Linked DNA regions of Homo sapiens: region 1 is linked to region 2. The links are contacts of gene promoters, found by promoter capture Hi-C in blood cells and fetal thymus (Javierre and others, 2016). All regions are on one chromosome and are shown on one strand. Each heading gives the region's core, a stretch centred on a gene start or on the middle of the fragment in contact. The rest is flanking DNA. Distances are from core to core; before and after follow the strand shown. Region 1 overlaps MED27 (mediator complex subunit 27). Region 2 holds the start of MED27 (mediator complex subunit 27).

Region 1 (4,073 bases), core at 1,464-3,963, 200 kb before region 2:
CCCTCAGTTCTATCTGTTTGGGACACACTTGTGAGGCAGCAACAGAACGCACAGAAACAGATGAAAATGACACCACATTCTGTCCTTACAACATAAGTTCTCCCTGTTGGAAAAAGTTAATCACCATTTAAGAGGCGGGGAGATGGTCAGAGGGCTGAGATCTATAAAAGACAGAAGGGCCTTCAACGACTCTGGGAGGCAGCTCCCAGCTGTGGAGTCCCTCTGAGTGTGGGGGTCTCACCTGTGCAGGGCACCGAACAGGGAATGGGACTGAGATCTGGCCTGAGGTCTTAGAACTTTTGTCACAACCATGGCCTCTTCCAGGCCTTCATCTGTGGCATTTGAAGAGAGGCTTTGGGAAGGAAATGTAGAGGAGGCTGGTAGGAGGAAATGTTAGAAACTGAAAATAACGCGGCTGGGCACAGTGGCTCACGTCTGTAATCCCAGCACTTTGGGAGGCTGAGACAGGTGGATCATTTGAGGTCAGGAGTTCAAGACCAGCCTGGCCAACATGGTGAAAATCTGTCTCTACTAAAAATACACACACACACACAAATTAGCTGGGTGTGGCAGTGCACACCTATAGTCTCAGCTACTCGAGAGGCTGAGGCAGGAGAATTGCTTGAACTTGGGAGGTGGAAGTTGCAGTGAGCCGAGACCACACCACTGCACTCTAGTCTGGGCGACAGAGTGGGACCCCGTCTCAAATAAATAAATAAAACAATGTAATGACTGTTTATGGAGCCTCTTTAGTGGTGTGAAACACTGCAGCGGCACCACACACCCAACTAAGGTGTGCAGCACAACCTGACTCAGAGGAGGGTGACGGTTCCAATCCCTGGGGAATGATCCCATGTTGAAACAGTTTCCTTCCCTAGGAGTTGGAATGAGCGATAGGTTAGGATTTTTGAATACTATTGGGGTTGGTAGTCAATTTACGCTAGGTACTCCACGTACCCACCAACGCAATATCAGGTGTCCACCCACTTTTCAGAGAACTGAGTCTTCTAGGGCTGACTCAATCTCTTTTACTGAAAAGCACCTGGTGGCCACCGAGTAAACAGACCTTGATCAAGTCTGCCTCAGTTAGGGGCCAGTCTTGCATATTAAAAAGAATGAACAGGCCGGGCGCGGTGGCTCATGCCTATAATCCCAACACTTTGGGAGGCCGAGGCAGGTGGATTACCTGAGATCAGGAGTTCAAGACCAGCCTGGCCAACACGGTGAAACCCCGTCTCTACAAAAATACAAAAATTAGCTGGGTATGGTAGCGCATGCCTGTAATCCCAACTACTTAGGGGCTGAGGCAGGAGAATTGCTTGAACCTGGGAAGTGGAGGTTGCAGTGAGCTGAGATTACACCACTGCACTCCAGCCTGGGCAACAGAGCGAGACTCCATTACAAAAATAAATAAATAAATAAATAAATAAATAAATAAATAAAATAAAAATAATCAACTAATAAATGAACAAAGGAATGAAGAAGCAAGCGGCACCCTGCCCAGAACATGACCCACCATGCACAATCCATTTGCTCACAGCTAAAAGTTCAGACGGTGCAGAACTGAAAGGGTTACTCATCCCTCTGCAATGACTGTGGATGGAGAGCTGGACATCTGCGGGCTACTTTCATGCTGTCCCTTACCTCTGATGAGAAAGCTGCAAAGTGTGTGTGGGTCCCTCTTGGCCTCTCTCTTGATGTCCCCTGCCTAACCTGGGTGGTACACACACTCCACCTCTCTCTCCAGCCACCCTAGCAAGACAATGCAGTGAGTAGCTGTCGGTCTGCTCTTACTCTCCCTAAATTGCTGGATGAAAATGCACAGAGTTTTGAAATGAGGGGGTTAAAGAACAAAACAGTGGCTGCCCCTGCAGAGTTTAAATGTCAGAAAAATATGAACACGCTTGAAACCTTTCCTGGCTCTTTGTGATTCTGCCCTTTCAGATGGTCACCCGCCCCCACCCCGCCCATTTCTAAGTCCCATTCTCTGAATCTACTCTGCTGGAGACTTGCTGGCTATAAAAAGCTTCTTCACCCTAGGACCAAGTGCAAGGAGCCTCCAGGGACCACAGTAAATGATGGGAACCTGTTAGCAGCCATAGACCCATAGCAAGCTGTCCCCAGCCCTCTGCTACTTCCACACTTGGGTAAGGGGTCTAATGAGGAAGAGTGAAAAGGGCTTGCTGATGGCATGAACATCTGCAGACAAAAGGAAGGCAGAATTTTGCTTCCTGTGGTGGGATTTGCTACAGAAGCTCAGGTGCTCAGGCTGTAAGCCAGCGGGTCAGGCACGGGCCTGAGAGAATGTGACAAGGGCATGCTTCCATTCTCCTACCTCCTGACATTGTTTGCCAGAAATAAAAAGGTGAGTGTTAGCTTGGTTTGGCTCTGCAAGGCAATCCCCCTACCCTGTCACACTGAAGGAGACCTCAGGGTGGGCACGGGTGGGGGGCGTGGCTTCCTGCTTTCCGAGTTCTGCTTTCCCTCGTTCTGGGCTGGCCACAGCTGCTTCTTGTGGGCAAGAAAACAGGCCTAACACAGTGACTGCAACCACATAATGAAGGCCTAGGAGAGGGAGCTCTGCGGTTCTACCTCAGCTAGAGCAGGAGGAGAATTCCTCCATTAATGCCATGTGAGCTGCTGCTGGTGGCCCAGAACTCCCATCTCAGAGGTGGGCATAGCTGTGGCACCTCCCACCACTGTCAGGACATCTGGGTACTATCTTCAGCCTGAGCAATCTCCTCTTCTTGATGACCAAGGAGCATCCTCCAGCATGTCATGCTGCTCCCCAATGCACTTCATGCCACTGCTGCAGGCTGAGCTTTTCTGGATGATGCTGGGAACGAACCCCACCCTCGCCAGTCGACTTGGCTGGGTGCAAACAGGCAGAGCAGGTGGAAGATGTCTGCCGCAGTGCTCCCAAACAGCGTCTTTCTGGGAAACACTACAAGCAACATCAATCATGACACCCCATATATAAGTGGGTGGACAGGAGGAAAATAGAATCTTGAGGAATAGCAAATCCTAAAAAGCGGAGTTTAGAAACGTTGCCACCGAATCCTTCTCTTTTGGTGATTTAGGTTTGAAATACTTAACGTCACCCCATAAACTGTGCCAGGTCTCTGAATCTGCAAAGGACAACGTGGTCCCACCTCTGCACGTAGTGCAGGGCCTGGCAGTGGCACAGGGAGGTCTACCTGCTGGCCACTGAGATGAACACGACGAAATAGGCACGCCAGTCACCGCCCTGGGATGGAGGCTACACCGCGCATGCTTCGTGCTTTCTACCGCCATCTCCCACAAGCTCAGTGATACAGAAACAGGCTTTTTTTTTTTCTAACAAGATCCCAAACTCATTCTGTGTGATGATGATTAGTTGAAGGCTTTATTGATAAAGGATTAAGCTTAATTCTGTACATTATTTTCCAATATGTTTCCTTCATTTGACAGCAAATGGAAGACATTTTAGTTAGGAAGAGAGAGGACTCACTAATTTAATTCTTACTTGTCCCTGAAAAAAAAGGACTTCAATGTTATCTGCCTTTAGTTGTAATCAGAAGGCACTACCACCTCTCCCAATTGTGGTTCTTTAATCTGGTACAGGTCAATATCAGAGGTTAAGTCCACTTAGTTAATAATAGGTGAAAGGAGCGATGATAAAGGAATCTCAGAAAGGCTTCTGCACAAATACACATGATATGCCACTCACCAGTGAGATAAAATTCCCATCCCTTAGAATTCATCAATTTTTACTACTTGAAACGTGTTACACAGACTGGAAGGAAGGAATTGGCGGATGCTCCTAAATCTCTCCAACTAGACTAATATCAAATTTTAAACACTTCTGCTTCAGAGTGTGTTTGTAATTTTAAATAAATACAAAGAGTGCCTGGCAGGTTATTTTCAAGGGAGGTAGGATAAAAATACAGTACTGTCTTTCTAAATCTATGCTTCACCAAATCTGTGTTTTATACATTTTACAACTTCCTAATACACTTTCTGCTTGCATTAAAAAATACTTAATACTACAAGAACATTAAAAAAAAAAAACATGCAAAAGTGAGCATGTGCAA
Region 2 (4,489 bases), core at 710-3,209:
TTTTGAAATGTGGTATAACACTGCCTCTCACTAAGAGTTTTCAGACCCACGTGCAGATCATTACACTTGGCAGAACAGCAAGTACCTGATTAAATGATGATTATTTATCATTCACATAGGGATAGATTTGTACATGATGCTTCACAGATGGTAAAACTTAACAAAACAAAGAAGAGATAAAATAAACAAATGGAATGGGAAGACACCACTGAGGTGGCTGTGTCAAACAAACACACTTCAGTCTAGCAGGAAAACCCTAGAGAAGCTTGGGAAAGCGAGCCAACAAGAGCACATTCCAGGAGTACGTTCTGAGGGGCCAGTCCCAAACTGCCAACAAAAGACTCTCTAGGAACAGCTTCTTATGCCACATTCATTTTGGAATCATCAGCCACCTTCTTCTTGGCACTACTGTACAAAGATTTAAGAAGGCAAAAGGATAATGTCAGCACTCTTAAAGTTTCTATTTAAAATGGTGAAGGGTTATAATATCCTGAACATTACAAAGGGAAGTAACTCGGAGAGAAAATGGAAAGAAAACAGAAGATAGGGAAGAATAGCCAGTGCATCCCCTGAAGCAGAGAAAGTATTAACTGGTGCTCGGCGCGGTGCCAGAGAACAGCAAGCGGATGTGGGCGTTGAGGAGGGCTGTGTGATTTACGGCAACTACTTAGGGGGAAAACAAAAAGGCACCCATCATTTGGCCACCTCCTCCTCCTCCTCCTCCATCCTACCTCCTCTTTCCATCTGGTTACTAAGGAGACCAAGTTGAAAAAACAAAAATCCAACCAGTCCAGAAATCAAAGGATGACTAGCTCACCAAATGCTTTCCCCTACTCAGGTCAGTTCTGAGAAGTAAAAGGCAAAAATCCTGAAATTCTAACCTTCCTGGGAAGGACTGACTCTCTTATAAAACAGAAGGCAAGTTCAGGACCTAAGCAATCAAGAAGTGCCTACTATGTGCCAGGCCCTTTACAAACATCCTCTCATTTAATTCTTACAACACTTAAAAAGTGTAAGTGAAGAAGGTACTTTGTAAGGAAGAGGAGGAAAAGTGGAATCCTTAACCCTAAAAGACTACAAATTAAGAAGCAGGGGCGTTAAGCATAAGTAATTAAACTGGTTAAGAGATTAGAGAGTAGGTCTCTACTGCGGAAGGAACTCCCACAGGAGTGGGAGTGAGGAAACTGATCAGGTGGTTTGGGAGCGGTTAGGGGAAAAGGTGAAGACAGCTCAAGGCCTGGCCGGTCCGTCGTGGTTGCGGGTGGGTGGTGGTGGAACTGATGAAGTCCAAGTTCAGGGCCGGGGAATTGGGGCTAATCAGATCGGGTGCACTTGGGTTTGGAGCCGACTGACCAGGTCCTGTCTGTACTATTACTACATTCGGATCAGACGTGATGGGGCACAGAGGGCCTACAGGTGAGAAACCTGCCAAGCTCAGAGAAGTGGAAGTTCATGGGAAAAGCATGCCTCCTTGTTAGGAATGGAACCGCCACAGAAGAGGTCGAGGATGGCGGAAGACAAACAGGACCAGGAGGCCAGGAGAAGCAAGACGAGAAAGCGGGGATGGTGTTAAGATGTCCCTGAGGGACAGGCAGAGGCTTGGAGAACAAGAAGAGAAAGAACAGGGATCAAGGGAAACGGAGAACAGCCCCTGCCTGGGAAGACTCGAGCGACGTAGGGGCAGGGTCGGAGCGGGGCCGGTCCCCGACCCCGGCCCCTTCAGCCGGTACCTACTTGAGGTCCCGGTTGACCGAATGTAAGTTGTCCTGGAAGTGCGCAATAAAGGCCTTCTCCCGGCCCTCCAGCGTCTCCTTGTTCCGCATCCCATCCTTCAGGCAGTCGAACACCCTGCTCACGCTGGAGCGCAGCGCCTGGATGGCACTAATGGCCTGGGAAAAGGCCTCCAGGTTCACACTGACATTTATCACGTCCGCCATGTTGCCGCCGCCACAGCAGCTCTCCAAAGCCGGCTTCGCAAGCAAAAAAGCCGCGCTCGCTGATGACGTATCTCCGAAGACCTCTGGGAAATGCAGTTCGCGCGGGGCTACCCAGAAAGCACTTTCGAAAAAGGGTTTCCCCTTGAGCTAAACTAATGCATGGGCAGGAAAGTGATTTTTCTCAACTTGGGGAAGTCAGGTTGCACTCCCGGTTTGCTTAATGGTGACAAAGAAATACAGAAAGTTCCCGCATTTCCCCAAACTTGCACTCTGGGGAATCATAGGGAAAAGAATTGCTCAGAGCAATAGTGTAAAAAGGAAAGGAACATAGCCCATTCAATAAAATGAGTCCATATTCATAAATAAAGCGGGGAGAAGGAAAGTTTCTTCTTTCCAATAGAATGCCAGCTCATAAATGCAGAAAGAGTGATGGAATTAGAAAATTGCCATTTGACAGCCATTAGAATAATTGATTCAGATAGAAATCGATGGATGCTAAAACTAGTGGGTGAAAGTGTCAGAAAAATAACAGGCTTTTTAGGTAATCTCAAAGTATCGTCCCCCAAGATGCTTATTAATTAAGAAGAGGAAAATAATGATCCAGAGATTCCACTTCTGGGCATATACCCAAAAGAAGCGAAAGCAGGGACTCAATACCTGTACACATGTTCATAACAGCATTATTCACCAAATAGCCAAAAGGCAGGGGAAACCCAAGTGTCCATAAACTGATGAATAAACAAAGTGTGATACTGGCATACAATGAAAAATTCTTCAGGCTTAAGCAAGAAAATTCTGACATATGCTACCTGGAGGAAACTTGAAGACATTATGCTAAGTGAAATAAGCCAGTCACAAAAAAACAAAATTCTGTGTGACTCCACTTATATGAGGTGTTTAGGGTAGTCAAAATGTTAGAGACAGAAAGTAGAATGGTGGCTGGTTTACAGTGAACACACACCTCTGAAAATAACATACATAGCATAGAGGTTGTGGAAGAAAGAGAAGGTTTGGGATTTAAATAAAACCAACAAAATGTTGGCCAAATCTGGCTTTATGGAAAAATTCAATGTCTCTTTGTCCTGTTGGCTATAGACAGGTTTCTGAAAATTTATTATCTTTTTACTAAAGGGAACCTGCCCAAGTCCTCATGTTCTTTCCTTAGAGGAGCTGGGGTTGCATAGCTTGGAGCAGAGAAGAGGAGAGCAGGAGGCAGATCATGATTGTGACCTTCAACTCACCTTCATGTCAACCCAAGACAAGAGTCCTCCTTGGTTAACTAGTGGCAATAACAATAACCAGTTGTAGGAAGGCTGTAGAGAGGAAGATTTCAGCATAATATTGCAAAGGGCCATATTTAAGTCTGTACTTAAAGAGTACAGACTTGGAAAAGTTTTACAGCTGGATGGTGGTGATGGCCATACAACAATGTGATTGTACTTAATGCCACAGAACTGGACACTTAGAAACAGTGAAAATGGTTGATTTTATATTATGTATATTTTACCAAAAAATTTTAAACAATTCATTAATGTAAACATAAGGGGGGATGGATAGTGACTTAATAGTGACTTCACAGTGGAGAAACATGGCAGACACCAGCTTAACCAAAAGGCCAAGGTCAACATCACCAGTGACGGGACATGTTGTGCACCTCCTGATACAATGCACTGGAAAGAGCACAACATGACCTCCATGATATTCTTGCCAGCAGTGCATAACCTGAATCTAATCAGGACATCAATAGAACTCAAACTGAAAAACGTGACAAAATAACTGACTGACCTATACTTTTTCAAGAAATATCTGTGTCAGGCCATACACTGTGGCTCACACCTGTAATCCCAGCACTTTGGGAGGCCAAGGTGGGTGAATCATTTGAAGTCAGGAGTTCGAGACCAGCCTGGCCAACGTGGTGAAACCCCATCTCTACTAAAAAGACAAAAAATTAACTGGGCGTGGTGGTGGGCACCTGTAATCCCAGCTACTTGGGAGGCTGAGGCAGGAAAATTGCTTGAACCTGGGAGGTGGAGGTTGCAGTGAGCCAAGAGTGCATCATTGCACTCCAGCCTGGGCAACAAGAGCAAGACTCAGTCTCAAAAAAAAAAAAAAAAATTACATATATATATATATATATGTCTGTGTCACGAAAGACATGAAGGTTGAGAAATTCTTCCAGATTAAAGGAAACCAAAGAGCTGTGACAACTGAGGGCAATGTGTGAGCTAGGATCTTCTTTTGCTGATACAACTGGGACAATTGGTGAAATCCGAGTAAGATCTGTAGATGAGTTAACAGTATTTTATCAGTGATTGTATTGGTCTGTTCTTGAACTGCTATAAAGAAATACCTGAGACTAGGTAATTTGCAAAGAAAAGAGGTTTAACTGGCTTATGTTTCTGCAGGCTGTACAGGTACCATGACTGGAGAGGCCCCAGGAGGCTTTCAATTATGGGGGAAGGTGACAGGAAGCAGGCGCATCTTACATGGCTGAAGCGTGAAAGAGGAGGAGGTGCCACACACTTTTAAACAACCAGATCTCGTGAGAACTC

The links. Contacts are between HindIII fragments. The CHiCAGO score rates a contact against its expected background, and 5 or more counts as called.
Region 1: a contact is called between a fragment that was not itself captured here and the fragment with the promoter of MED27 in region 2, in 1 of 17 cell types (endothelial precursors). The highest score is 5.8, in endothelial precursors.

The regions. Positions count from the first base shown.
Region 1 is chr9:131,876,871-131,880,943 of GRCh38, forward strand. All of the region lies in intron 6 of MED27 (mediator complex subunit 27), which reads right to left. Among named protein-coding and RNA genes, the nearest start is that of RAPGEF1, 140 kb to the left of the region's middle. RefSeq lists an enhancer at 1-358. The HindIII fragment of the contact is 1,378 bases long and covers 2,025-3,402 here.
Region 2 is chr9:132,077,908-132,082,396 of GRCh38, forward strand. MED27 (mediator complex subunit 27) reads right to left here and starts at 1,960. Exons shown (of 8, transcript NM_004269.4): 1 at 1,735-1,960. The coding sequence starts at 1,937. RefSeq lists an enhancer at 1,857-2,136. The HindIII fragment of the contact is 6,112 bases long and covers 264-4,489 here.